Linked DNA regions of Homo sapiens: regions 2, 3 and 4 are each linked to region 1. The links are contacts of gene promoters, found by promoter capture Hi-C in blood cells and fetal thymus (Javierre and others, 2016). All regions are on one chromosome and are shown on one strand. The core of a region is centred on a gene start or on the middle of the fragment in contact, and the rest is flanking DNA. Distances in the headings are between cores, read along the strand shown. Region 1 holds the start of CDK5RAP2 (CDK5 regulatory subunit associated protein 2). Region 2 has its middle 7.5 kb from the start of TLR4. Region 3 overlaps TLR4 (toll like receptor 4). Region 4 overlaps RC3H2 (ring finger and CCCH-type domains 2).

Evidence for each region. Contacts are between HindIII fragments. The CHiCAGO score rates a contact against its expected background, and 5 or more counts as called.
Region 2: a contact is called between a fragment that was not itself captured here and the fragment with the promoter of CDK5RAP2 in region 1, in 2 of 17 cell types (M0 macrophages and M2 macrophages). The highest score is 6.1, in M0 macrophages.
Region 3: a fragment that was not itself captured here is called in contact with the fragment with the promoter of CDK5RAP2 in region 1 in 3 of 17 cell types (M1 macrophages, M0 macrophages and total B cells); the score reaches 9.8 in M1 macrophages.
Region 4: a fragment that was not itself captured here is called in contact with the fragment with the promoter of CDK5RAP2 in region 1 in 2 of 17 cell types (fetal thymus and total CD4 T cells); the score reaches 5.8 in fetal thymus.

The regions. Positions count from the first base shown.
Region 1 is chr9:120,578,275-120,581,638 of GRCh38, reverse strand. CDK5RAP2 (CDK5 regulatory subunit associated protein 2) reads left to right here and starts at 1,472. Exons shown (of 38, transcript NM_018249.6): 1 at 1,472-1,719. The coding sequence starts at 1,661. RefSeq lists enhancers at 1,255-1,384, 1,238-1,800. The HindIII fragment of the contact is 6,111 bases long and covers 1-3,364 here.
Region 2 is chr9:117,695,174-117,698,537 of GRCh38, reverse strand. No RefSeq gene overlaps it. Among named protein-coding and RNA genes, the nearest start is that of TLR4, 7.5 kb to the left of the region's middle. The HindIII fragment of the contact is 3,453 bases long and covers 1-3,364 here.
Region 3 is chr9:117,716,056-117,719,419 of GRCh38, reverse strand. It overlaps TLR4 (toll like receptor 4), which reads right to left. Exons shown (of 3, transcript NM_138554.5): 3 at 1-3,364. Among named protein-coding and RNA genes, the nearest start is that of TLR4, 13 kb to the right of the region's middle. The HindIII fragment of the contact is 2,234 bases long and covers 436-2,669 here.
Region 4 is chr9:122,901,724-122,905,087 of GRCh38, reverse strand. All of the region lies in intron 1 of RC3H2 (ring finger and CCCH-type domains 2), which reads left to right. Among named protein-coding and RNA genes, the nearest start is that of RC3H2, 2.0 kb to the left of the region's middle. RefSeq lists a silencer at 1-274. The HindIII fragment of the contact is 766 bases long and covers 1,147-1,912 here.

The DNA.
Region 1 (3,364 bases), core at 223-2,722:
ATTTTACACACACACACACACACACAAATTGCAAAATATGGTAAGTGCCACAAAGGAATAATTTGCATTGCTAGGAATACAAGAAGTGGCTTGATTTAGATTAAATGACTAGGGAAGGCTTCTTTTGAAAAGTATCAATAATTGGTTAATTACTTAACTGAAGAATGAGGGCCTGGTGCAGTGGCTCAGGCCTATAACCCCAGCACTTTGGGAGGCCAAGGTGGGAGGATTGCTTGAGGCCAGGAGTTCAAGACCAGCCTGGGCAACATAGTGAGACCCTGTCTCTATTTAAAAAAAAAAAAAAAAGAATGAGGAAACAGGGTGAAAGGGGAATTGTTCAAGATTACTGGGAAAGTCACTATCTATCCACTCACCAACCATTTCAAGTTATTTTCATCGGGCTCTCTCACAAGGGCCTGCAGAGGAAGGAGCAACACTGAGTTGAGGAGGGGAAGGTTAATTTCATTGCTTAAGCTCTGCCAAGATTATCTAAGTGTTTGGTGATTGCTATGTGCTTTAAGAAAGGCAGCCAAGGGGCCGGTGCTGTGGCTCACGCCTGTAATCCCAGCAGTTTGGAAGGCCGGGGTGGGCAGATCACGAGGTCAGGAGATTGAGACCATCCTGGCCAACATGGTGAAACCCCGTCTCTACTAAACATACAAAAATTACCCGGGTGTGGTGGCGCAAGGCCGAGGCAGAAGAATCGCTTAAACCCAGAAGGTGAAGGTTGCAGTGAGCTGAGATCGGGCCACTGCACTCCAGCCTGGCGACAGAGGCACCATTTCAAAAAAAAAAAAAAAGAAAGGCAGCCAGGGTTATGCAGAGAGCCCTCATCTAGTTGGCAGGAGCTGCAGACCCCCACTCCAGTTGAAAGACATTGTCAATACTTAATTACTTTGGGAGAGTCCTTTCCTCTTGCTGGCCCTCAGTTTTCTGACCACAGGTGCCTTTGAGTCCTAATGGTAATAAAAGACCAATAGGTGAGAGACTGGAGTGGGAGTGCTGTTGACCACTGGCTCATGGGAATGAGTTATTTGCTTCAAACTAAGTCTGCAAATTACTGTTTGCCTTGAGATTCCGCACGTAGTATTTTTCCAAAGCAAGGCAGCACTCAGTTATCTGAGTTTCAACTTAAGGTCAAATCCCAAAGTTTTGGGGTCATTATTCTAGAAAAGCAAACACGAGGTTAGGAACTTTGAGGATTCCTGAGTGGCTGTATTCATTTCCATCTCCCGCGTAAATTAACGGACTAGGGCCCGCTTTGGCCCTCAACAAAGATGGCACCCGCCCTCGCCTCTCCCTAAGTGCCCTCACAAAAAATGGCAGCCGGCCTTTTTTTGTCTCTTATTTTTGCTTGGCTTAAGCACGGATGCTTTGCCCTTAGTTAAGATGGCACCTATCCCCGCTTCCCTGCCCGTCCTCTGGCGCCAGCCGGTCGGCTTCACTGCGTGCGCCTCCGTGACCCCGCCTCGTTTCCGTAGGAAGAAGCGCCGGGAAAGATGGCGGCGTCTGTGGTTTGAATTCCAGCGGCGCCGCCAGAGTCTGAACAAGAGCTGGGGTGGAGGGGGCGGGGACCTGGGGAGCCCGGCGGGTCGCTATCGCGGGGGGTACTAGTGGCGCCGCCGCCACAGACACCAACGCTGTCGCCACCTCTGTAGCCATGATGGACTTGGTGTTGGAAGAGGACGTCACCGTCCCTGGGACGCTCAGCGGCTGCAGGTGCGGCCGGGGCATTGGTGGTCGTGGTAACCGGGCCGGGGTTCCAGCTGGTGGGATTTCGTTCTAACGCGGCCTTGGGGTTTGCTCTTGAGGGTGTCTGGCCAGGGGCAGTGTGTGGGGTGGGTTCCTTCGGAGAGGGTCTCTGGGGGGCCCACCACCTGACACTCTGGAGGGCTGGGAGCCGCGACCTGCACCACAATTGCCAGTAGCATTGCGCCATGTACTTTGTAGAGCGTGTGAAGAACAGGTAAGGAGTTTTCTGAAAGAGTAGGACGAGGGTGGGGCCACTTGGAGTATCCCGTTAGTGGGGATTGGTGGAGAACAGGGACCTTGAGGGCACCTGATGGTTCCTTCTGGTTTGAGAGTTTGTTTTCATTATGGAGAGAGTGTAGCCGGTATGCCCAGACTTTGCTTTTTGGGTCACATAGTGGCCACCCAGGAGGCAATGGAGTGCAATGATTAAGAACCTTGGCTAGAGTTGGACAAAACTGGATTCAAATCCAGCCCTGTAAACTGACTAGCTGTGTGACCTTGGTAAAGTGATTTCACCGGCTTTCCCATCTGTAAAATGGGCTAGTAATATCCACCCAACAGAGTTGGGGTGAGGATTAAAAGAGGTGATGCCTGTCGAGCCATTTGCTTGGCAGGTGTAGTGCCTGCCACATAATCAGTGCTTAAAAAATGATCTTGTGTTGCCATTAGTGTCATTATTACTACTGTCATCAAAGGTGATATGAATCAGGGAATAATGGCCAAGAGTGGCCTCCCATGGACCTGCCCCAAGAGACTGTGGGAGTCCCCATTGCTGGTGGAGCTGGGGTCTGGTAGGAAGGCCTAACAGAGCGCAACTCTGCTCCACGGCTGGCCCCTGTGGTTGTCCTAGACTCCTGGTTGGAGAGTGAGTAGAGGGAAGAGGAGGAGAGCCCTGACGGAGAACCTGCACTGTTTATCCAGCTCTACTATGGACAAGCTGCTGCTTTTAGTCAACAGATCCTAATTGAAAGGGTGACCATGTTATTTATTGTGCTAACTGGGACACTTAAGAGTGAAAAGAGCCAGGTGCGGTGGCTCACCTGTGTAATCCTAGCCCTTGGGGAGGCCGAGGTGGGCCGATTTCTTGAGCTCAGGAGTGTGAGATCAGCCTGGGCAACATGGTGAAATCCTATCTCTACAAAAACTACAAAGATTAGCCAGGCGTGGTGGCATGCACTTGTAGTCCCAGCCGCTCGGGAGGCTGAGGCAGGAGGATTGCATGAGCCCGGAAGGTTGATGCTGCAGTGAGCTGTGTTCATGCCACTGCACTGTAGCCTGGGTGACAAAGTGAGACTCTATCTTTAAAAAAAAAAAAAAGGAAAGTGAAAATAATTAATATTTATGCCCGGGCAGCAGACATAAAGAGGGCCTATCTTGGGTAAACCTGGACAAATGGTTTTTCTGTTTATTGAGAACCTTCATGTATGAGGCACAGACTAAGATGCTTTGCAGTTCCTGTCTAATTGGGTCCTGTGATATTTCATCATGCCCTTTTCTATCTATTTTACATCCACTGCCCCAATATATTGGGAGTATGGCTTCTCTCTTGTATTGTCCTTTGCACCTCTAATAGTTTTTTATACTACAATTTGAAAACTATTTTTTATTTATT
Region 2 (3,364 bases), core at 428-2,927, 2.9 Mb after region 1:
AGCCCATTCTCACACCTCAATGAAGAAATACCCAAGACTTGGTAGTTTATTTAAAAACAAAACAAAACAAAACAACAACAACAACAAAAAAGAGGTTTAATTGACTCACTGTTCTGCAAGGCTGGGGAGGCCTCAGGAAACTTACAATCATGGTGGAAGGGGAAGCAGACATGTCCTTCTTCACATGGTAGCAGGAAGGAGAGGTGCAAGCAGAGGAAATGCCTGGCACTTATAAAACCATCAGATCTCATGAGAACTCACTCACAATAATGAGAACAGCAGCATGGGGGTAACTGCCCCCATGATTCAATTACCTCCCACCAGGTCCCTCCCACGATATACGTGGCGATTATGGCAACTACAATTCAAGATGAGATTTGGGTTGGGGCACAGCCAAACCAAATCTGAAGGCTATACTTTAAAATATTTCATTATCCTTTTTACTTTCTGGCATCATCATTTTTTGTGGGTGTCACTAATTTTTAACATCATTGAGTTTCCTTAAACCATACAACAAAAATAACACTATGGCCTAATTAATAATATTATCTGAGGGGTAAATGAGATCTTGTGTGTGGATGTATTTGTAAATGTTACAACTTTACACAAATGTTGACCATAATTCATTCATTTATTTATACACCAAATATGTATGGATGGTTAACATTTTGCCAGGCACTGTTCTGGGCAGAAGACTACAACAGTGAAGAAAGCAGTCCCTCTCACTCAAGTTGAATGTATATTCTAATTAGTAGAGAGATGATAATAATTATAAATAAGTGCATTATATAGTAGGTCCGAAGATGTTAGGATCTATAGACAAAAATTTAAGAGAGTGAGGGGAATGAAGAGTGGTGTGTGGTATTGGAGTTTTATTTATTTATGTATTTATTTTCTCTCTATTTATTTATTTATCTCTTTATTTATGTGGGTTCATAGTAGGTGTATATACTTATGGGGTATATGAGATGTTTGATACAGGCATTCAATGTGAAATAAACACATCATGAACAATGGGGTATCTATCCCCTCAAGTCCTATTGTCTGAGTTACAAACAATCTAGTTACACTCAAATTATTTCAACATGTACAATTGAGCTATTATTGACTTTAGTCATCCTATTGTGCTATCAAATATAGGACAATCAGTGTGGGTCTTTTTGAGAAAGTGATATTTTGAGCCAATTCTGGAAGGAGTCCCTGGCTATGCAGATACTTTGGAGAGAAACACCCCAGTTAGAATAGTAGTTCTCAACTGGAAATGATTTTGCCCCAGGGGGCATGTTGCAATCTCTTGAGACATTTGTGTTTGTCGTAACTTGGGGGTTGGAGGTGTTGCTGCTGGTATCCACTGAGTAGAGGCCAGGGATGCTGCTAAACATCTCACTATGTGCTAGATCCAGGACAGTCCCCCAGCCTAAAATATCAGTAGTGCCAAGGTTGAGAAGCCCTGAGTTAGAAGGATAAGCCAGTCCAAAGATCCAGAGACAGGAAGTGCTAGAACCAACCAGTGTAGAGAGGCACACGTTGCCAGGTAGATTACTTAGGGCATTGTAGGACATTGTTAAGACTTTGCATCTTAGTGATACATGCCCAACGTCTCCAAGTAGGCATTTGTCACCTTTTCTTCAGTCCTCCCACAGCAACCATCTCTCATGTTCAAGAGGGATTATCTTTCTTTCCCACTAGGCTTTTAGCCCCCTTATGACAGAAGCCAAATCTAGTGCATCTCTGTACACCCTATGCCTATCACAGTGCCCAGTAATACCTAGGAGAAGTTTAATGCATGTTAGTTGTATCAGTGATTGTGAAGATAACTCCTGGTAATAGTCTCAATTGACTTGGGTCTTATTTCATATACAGGCTAATAAGATCCAAGTGAGGACAGATTGGATCTGTTACATTCAGAGTTGTAGCTAGTGTTTGTTTGTTATCAGTACATGATAAGTGCTCAATTAACATTAAATGAATGCAGGAATTAGTAGATTATATGTAATCAGCCATTTTTTTTGATGACTGGTCAATCACATTTCTCCTCTTTTTAGCAACTTCCACTGAGAAAAAGAAGGAAAAATCTAAAAGGAATTTATTCTGTCTTTTTCTAGAAGACAACCTGTGATGAAATACTTTGAGCTGGTATCTGACACAATCCTAGGCTAGACTTGCAAGTCACCTTATAACACATCACTGTGGACAGCACATGCTTGCGTAACCCAGAGGTGTATGACATGTGTTTTTGGAAGGAATGGGGTCAGGGCATGAGTAACTTACATTACTTGTCAAGTAGCTGGTTTATTCTACAATTACTCTTCTTTTCTTCTACCTTCCATTCTGGAGAAGTCTATGAATCTGGAAGTAATCGGACTGGGAAATGATGGACAAATATGCAAGTTGGGCAAATACACATGGAGCACAGAAAAGTATCTAGTGTGCAATTTCCTTGAGGTTCAAAAGATATATTCCAATCTATACATAGTCCAAAGAATGGTGCAGGATTCACAGCAACATCCCTAATAAAATTAACTTTTTTTTCATTGATCCTCGGGATGTCCTCAGCTTTATCCTTAGCTTTTGTGAGAGACCTCATGTGAGCTACTTCTTCTGCTACAGAATTGTGTTCCTCTCAGACTCTGCTCCTTACTTGCTGTCTCCCACCCCGACAGACTTTTGATCCTTAACTCTTCTTTTCCTTCTGAAGTATAGGCATTCTATTAGCCACAAACTTCAACATGAGTTGTTAGTTATTCTCTGCTTGGCTTGGTGTTGTTAATGGGTAGAAAGACAAAGAATCTACAAATTCTAAGGAGTAGTGGATGATGTTAAGAGGCTGCCTTGGTAGAATGACCACCAGGTGAGCAGAAAAATTAAAGTAAACTAAAAGATGGGGTGCTTACTGAAGGTGAAACTCTTCCACCAAAATTTTTGTATTTTATGCTGTATGAGTACCTGCCTCCTCTCTTTCTTTGAGTCAACATTTAAATTTTAAAAAAAGAAAAAGAAAAAACCCTCCTAGTGCCTTGGTATTAGAAGGTTGGAGCTCTAGTGAGAAGGAAGATACAGAGATAAAGATAAAAAATAAAAGGTTAGATGTGACATTATGGGAAGGAATTGCATTCAGGGTAACATAAAAGTATGTTGAGAGTACTAAACATAAATATGCTTCAATTTTGACTCTGCCCTTTTGATTTATGCCAAAGCAACCATATCTTTTTCCTTTAGCTCCTCTAGAGCTCAGACTAAATGTCCAGTGAATGCTTCCATAAACTAATATTCTCAATGACATGGCATGGAATAATAACTGAAATTCATGGACTCTGCATTAGATTGGAAATCTTGGCTTCTGGTACTTGCTCCATCACTTCCT
Region 3 (3,364 bases), core at 303-2,802, 2.9 Mb after region 1:
ACAGTATTTAGAAGCCCTGCTTCTGCGGTGAAGTGGACTTAGATCCTAATCTCAGTGCTGCCACCAATGAGCAGGTGACAGTGGACACATGACAGAATGACTCCCAGACTCAGACTCCTCATTTGTAAATTGGAAATACTTTCGTATCTTTCTAATTCATTGATGTGACAAACTGAGATAGCACAAATAAAGCCCTTGCATAAAACAATTGATCAATTAAATGTAACTATTGTAACTATCAACATTATCATTTTAACCAAGTGAGGTCTGCCAACAAGGTATTATTACCTCCATTTCATGAATTAAGACCTGAGCCTCAAAGCACTTGAATGACTTGCCCACAATCACACAAGTAAATGGAGACACTGGCTTAGACTTTGGTTTTCACTCTCCCAGGGAGTTCACTGTCACATATTGTGTGAGTTCATTTAAGCTTCTCCAGGAGCCTGCTGATGATTTCTAAAAAGTTTATAGAGTCCAGAAGAAGACTGGGGTCTGACAATCCCGTGAGTAGAGAATGAATCAGAAAGAAATGTCTAATTTTAGTTACAGTCACTTCTGTGGTTCCACAGGCTGGAAAAATAGCAATTACTTTAGTGTTGTTACTGAGAAGACCTCCCAGTGCTTCTCCTAGTGCCCTCTTAATAAAGTCTTAGGGGAGTACTCACCCATAAGGACAGTGTCCCCGTATTGAACATAATACATGATTTTCAATCCTTAGAGCAACCTTACAAAGTCATAGTTCTATTCTTATTTTACATTGGAGCTAAGTAGACTCTCAGAGAAATGGAGCCCAAGGCACACAGTTGATAAGGAGTGAATTTGAGTTTTGGCTTTCTCCAAAAGCCACGCTACTCAAAACACCAGAAAAATGGAAAGCACTGTATTAACGCTCATTCTCGGTGTCTTTCTCTCCTCTTTTTATTCTATGTCCAGATTTTCTACTTATTATTGATTAACCCTATTGTTCACATATCCTTTGTTTGAAGCTCCTTCAAGTCCTTTATGGAAAGATAGGGTTATAAATAAATCATTTGGTATGTATAACATATATGCATATGTATTGGCTTAATGATTCATGGCTTCAACTGAGAAACCCTTGCTAGTGTCAACCACACAGAAAACTGCAGGAGTTTCACTTCCTGTTTTGCCAACTTTAAGCATGAAGCAATTGGGTGTGGAAGAAAGAAAGTGTCCTTGAGTGACCTGGAGGCCCAGGCTCAGGTTTTGTCACTTTCCTACTCTGTGGGCTATTGAAAAATTTACTTCATTGAACTTCAGCTTTCCCATCAATAAAATGGAAAAAGTTAATTATGATTTGCTACCTTACTCAGCTAATGAGATATTCAAATATATAGTTTTGTGAATATGTTTCAAGTTGTAAGGTATCACACAAATTTAAGGCATTACAATTGGCATTAATTTATCCTTATTCCACCCTTTATCCCTCTTAAATCCAGAGGATTTAAAGAGCTAAAAAGAGGCTGGCTGAGGCCTGACTTTACTCTTTCTTCTCCTTCTGTTCTATGCATATAATTTCTTTCCCTGCTTGTCCACCTCACCTGCCATTTCTAGAATTTCCATCTGGGAGAGGGAACTGATAGGAAGGAGGCCAATGTCAGCCTTGAATATTTCGGCCTTGAAATATTCCAAGTTGTATGTTGATCTTCCTTCTCAGAGCCTTGTACATTTGCTTGAATAAACACACTTATGCAGAATTCATATTCAAATATGAATAGAACCACACTTACATGTAGCACGGATATACACAAAATCATACATTTTCAAGCATACTAAGAAACTGAGGCATACATCTGTAGATAAACAATCATGTATGTATGTTAGTTCCTCACTTATCCACAGTTTCACTTTCCCAGGTTTCATGGTCAGTTATGGTCTGAAAATAGGTGAGTACAGTACAGTAAGATATTTTGAGAGAGAGAAAGAAAGAGATCACATTCACATAACTTTTATTACAATATATTATTATAACTATTCAATTTTATTGTTAGTTATTGTTAATCTCTTACTGTGCCTAATTCAGAAGATGAACTTTATCTTAGGTATTTATGTATAGGAAAAAATATTGCATATATGAGGTTTGGTACCATCTGCGGTCTCAGAGATCCACTTGGGGTCTAAGAACGTATCCACCAAGCATAAGGGATAAGGGGAGACTACTGTACAAGCACAAGAGTAGAGAACTCATCTCAAACAGCCATAGACATCCATTTCAAATGGATGTATTCTTCAAGAAATATAATCACACTCTCTTCTATACAGATATGATCATGCGGACACACACACTTTCAAATACACACAGCCCTGATAGGGATACATAGGGATATGTGCACAAATGCACACATCTACTTTCACTAGTACATGAGACATGGAAACACACCCAGGGATGTTCAATCACCCTAGACCTGCTCAAACCAAACACACTCTGAAACACTCAGTAACAAACACTTCTGACTGTGGTCATATTTCCAGTTTTGACAACTGAATTTTGTTGTCTTTTCTTTTTTATAGCTTCATTCAGACATAATTGATATTATAAAACTGCATATATTTAATGTATACAATTTGATGAGTTTAGACATAGTCACATACCTGTCAAACCATCACCACAATCAAGGTAATAAATATATCCATCACCTCCAAAAGCTTCCTTGTGTATATGTATATGGTAAGAACACTTAACATGAGAGGTACCCTCTTAACAAAATGTTAAGTGCATAATACAGTATTGTTCATTATACGAACTCTGCTATACAGCTGATCTTTAGAGCTAATTCATCTTGCATACTATAATTTTATACCAATTAGACAACTCCCTATTTCCTCATTTCTCCCTTCCTCCTTTTCCCTAGGAACCACTGTTCTATTCTCTGCTTCTATGAGTTTGACTATTTTAGAACCTCATATAAATGAAATCAGGCAGTATTTGTCTTTCTGTTACTTGCTCATTTTACATAGCATAATGGCCTCCGGGTTTATTCATGTTGTCATAAATAACAGGATTCCCCCTTTTTTTAGGCTGAATAATATCCCATTGTACGTATATGCACATTTTCTTTGTCCATTTATTTTTCAATGGAAATTTGGGTTGTTTCCATAACTTTGGAAACAGTGATTGTGAAGAGTGCCACAATGAACATGGGAGTGTAAATATTTTCTTGAAATTCTGATTTCAATTATTTTGGGTATATATACAGAAGTGAGATTGCTGGATCATATAGCAGTTCTATTTTTAATTTTTGAGAAACCTCCGTACTGTTTTTCATAACGGCTACACCATTTTCCATTCCCTCCAGCAGTGAAGAAGGGTTCCAATTTCTCTATATCCTTGATGACACTTCAT
Region 4 (3,364 bases), core at 280-2,779, 2.3 Mb before region 1:
GCGGCTCGGGCCCCAGCCCGGGTGCCTGGTCCCCGGCGGTCGGGCGGGAGACCAGTCTCAGCCCTGGGGCCTGTGCGCTGTCGCCCCTGGTGCCTCGAGGGTTGGGAACTGAGGGCCGCACCTGACACTCGGATGGAACCCGGGCCCTGCGGAGGCCCCTCTCTCTGGTAGGGCTTTTTCGATGCGGAGCGACCGGCTCAAATGGCCACCTTCCTTCGACACTGGCCGAGCGGACGCCTCTGACCCCTAACGAACCCACCCAAGCAAAGGCCCGGCTTCACTCTCCCTTTTCTACACCAGTTAGTAAGGGGGTTTGGAAGAGGTCCTCGAAACCAAGTCTTCTCCTAGCTTTTCAGCTTTCTGCCCTGGGGCTTCCCGAGACCCTAGCGTAGAGGGTGGTGGAGGCGATCTGAGTGGTAAATAGGAACCCCGGCCAAACAATGCCCTGGGAGGGCTTAACCTCCCAGGATGGGGACGGCCGGACCTGAGTGGTTGCACAGGGGTTGTGGCTAGGAGCAATGGCATGAAACACAGCCAGGAAATTCTGCTATGGCTTTCTTCTTTCCCTCTCTCATTTTTCCTTTTTGGTGTAGCCTCTTGAGGAGACTCTTCCACCATCTTAGAAGAATGGTAGAAAGCATCTTTGTTTCCCAGAGAAGCAGCTGTACTTTTTTCTATCCTTAGCTTTCAGGATGGGAGAAGATGAGGGTAGCTGTCATTTCCATCCTTCAAATCCCAAGGCAGCCGTTTAAGATACCGGCAGATAAATCCTTCACACCAAAATTGACTCAAGTAATCACTGGCATAAAGTAAATCTAATCCAGTGATTTATTTATATTTTCATAACCCTTGGGTTCCCTTTTTAATTCCTCCTCTCCCCTTACCCACGGCCTTCCTTTTTTTCATTTCTACTCTCCCCCTACCCATTGTGGGTGGGTGAGTTTGTATCCCAAATAAAGTGCTTTAAGTAATCTTTTTTCCAATTTTGTATTGGCCAAACTTTTAAGTTCCAGTAGGAACTTTTGGTTAACCTGAGAAAGCTAACGTTGCTATACCACAGTGGTATAAAGTCACTCAAAAGCAAAGAAACAAATGTTAGCCAGTGCAGCCTTTTAATGGTTAAACATACAAACTTAGTTAAAAGCTTTTTACGATATTAAGAATATTAATAGATTCTCCTTTTTAAAAAACCTTTTAGCTGTCTAAAAAGCTATACCACTGTTGTAGCTTCACATGCCTTTCTTACGTTGTTTACTTCCACGTTCAATTTTTGAAGAAATAGAGGTCGTTACATCCTGTTAAAGACTGCTTTTCAATATTGACATTTTCGTTGATTTGGAGATTAATGTTTTCAAAATTTTAGAGTTTGGAAAATTGCTAGGAGGACAGAATGTGAAACATATTCTAGTTACGTTTAGAAAAAGCAGATGTTATAATTCAAACAGGCACTTGTTCTATGAGGATTTAATTACACTCGTGTTCATTAGTGGATCCTTTGAGTTACCCCTGATCTGTTATTTCTGTTGTGGTAACCTGACATGTAAGAAGACTTACGTCCTTTGTTCATATATTTTTGTTAAATCATACTCTGCTTTTGTAATTTGCTGTCTTCCACTTTGAAAAAACCAAAAATTTGCATTTTGGCAAAGCATTCTTCTTTACACTCAGGATTTTATATTCAAAAGTTGAACTTCTACATTGTTTGCAATAGCTAAGAACGCTAAAAAAAACTTCATAACAAGGTTTTAGTAACTACTTACTGTTTAGTTTGTACCGTGTTGAAGTTTCACTTTTTAGTGATGGAAAAAGGAAGCATGGGTAAAATAAAGCTAGCTGAAAATTAAAAATAAGTTCATGTTTTGCATCCAGTCTCATGAATGTTATGATCAGCGTCTCTAATTTTACTAAAGCTTTAAGTGTAAGTGTGAGTTTTACCTCAATTTCCTGATAAAAGTTCTAAGTATTACTTTATAATTTAAATATTCTAGAGTTGCACTGTCCAGTACTAGCCAGTGGCCACATGTGACAGTTGAAGATTTGAAATGTGGCTTCTGTGAATTGAGATGTGCTTTAGGTGTAAAATACCAGATTTCAAAGACTTAGTACCAAGATTTTTTTTAATATCTCAGTAATTTTAATATTGACAACATGTTGAAATGATATTTTGTATAAACTGGGATAAATAAAATATATTACTAAAAATAATTTTAGCTATTTTAACTTTTTTTTTTTTTTTTTTGAGACAGTCTCTCTCTATCACCCATGCTGGAGTGCAGTGGCACCATTCGGGTTCACTGCAACCTCTGCTTCCAGGTTCAAGCAATTCTCATGCCTCAGACTCCTGAGTAGTTGGGATTACAGGAAGGCACCACTACACCAGGCTAATTTTTGTATTTTTAGTAGAGATGGGGTTTTGCCATGTTGACCAGGCTGGTCTGGAACTCATGACCTCAAGTGATCCACCCACCTCCCGCCTCCGCCTCCCAAAGTGCTGGGATTACAGGCGTGAGCCACCACGCCTAGCCTCTTTTAACCTTTTTTAATGTGACTACCAGAAAATTAAAAATTACTCGGATTATAATGGCTCACATATTTCTATCGGATATTACTGTTGTAGATCAGCATTACTCTTCCAAGAAATATGTTAGTGGAATAAAAGTAGATGTATAAAAACCCAAAACTTCCAGATAGATTATCCTGTTACAATCAGAATAATTAAAGAGCTAAGGACTTTGGTAATATGAAGGATGAAGTTATCCATTGGCTATGATTTGATAGGCAGAAGTAAGTTCTATCTCAAAGAAAGTATTTTTCTCGTCATCACTAATATTAGTTATACTTGTTAAAATAGAAAGTTGGCTGGGCGCGGTGGCTCACGCCTGTAATCCCAGCACTTTGGAAGGCTGAGGCGGGTGGATCACCTGAGGTCAGGAGTTCGAGACCAGCCTGACCAACATGGATAAACCCCATCTCTACTAAAATTACAAAAAATTAGCTGGGCCTGGTGGCGCATGCCTGTAATCCCAGCTACTCCGGAGGCTGAGGCAGGAGAATCGCTTGAACCCGGGAGACGGAGGTTGCAGTGAGCCGAGATCGCGCCATTGCACTACAGCCTGGGCAACAAGAGCGAAACTCCGTCTCAAAAAAAAAAAAAAAAAAGAAGTAGTTATCTCATTATTGCCCTATTAGAATGCATTGAGACTGGGCGCCGAGGCTCATGCCTGTAATCCCAGGACTTTGGGAGGCCAAGGTGGGCAGATCACGAGGTCAGGAGTTTGAGATCAGCCTGACCCACAGGTGAAACCCTGTCTCTACTAAAAATACAAAAATTAACCGGGCATGGTGGTGCGCACTTGTAATCCCA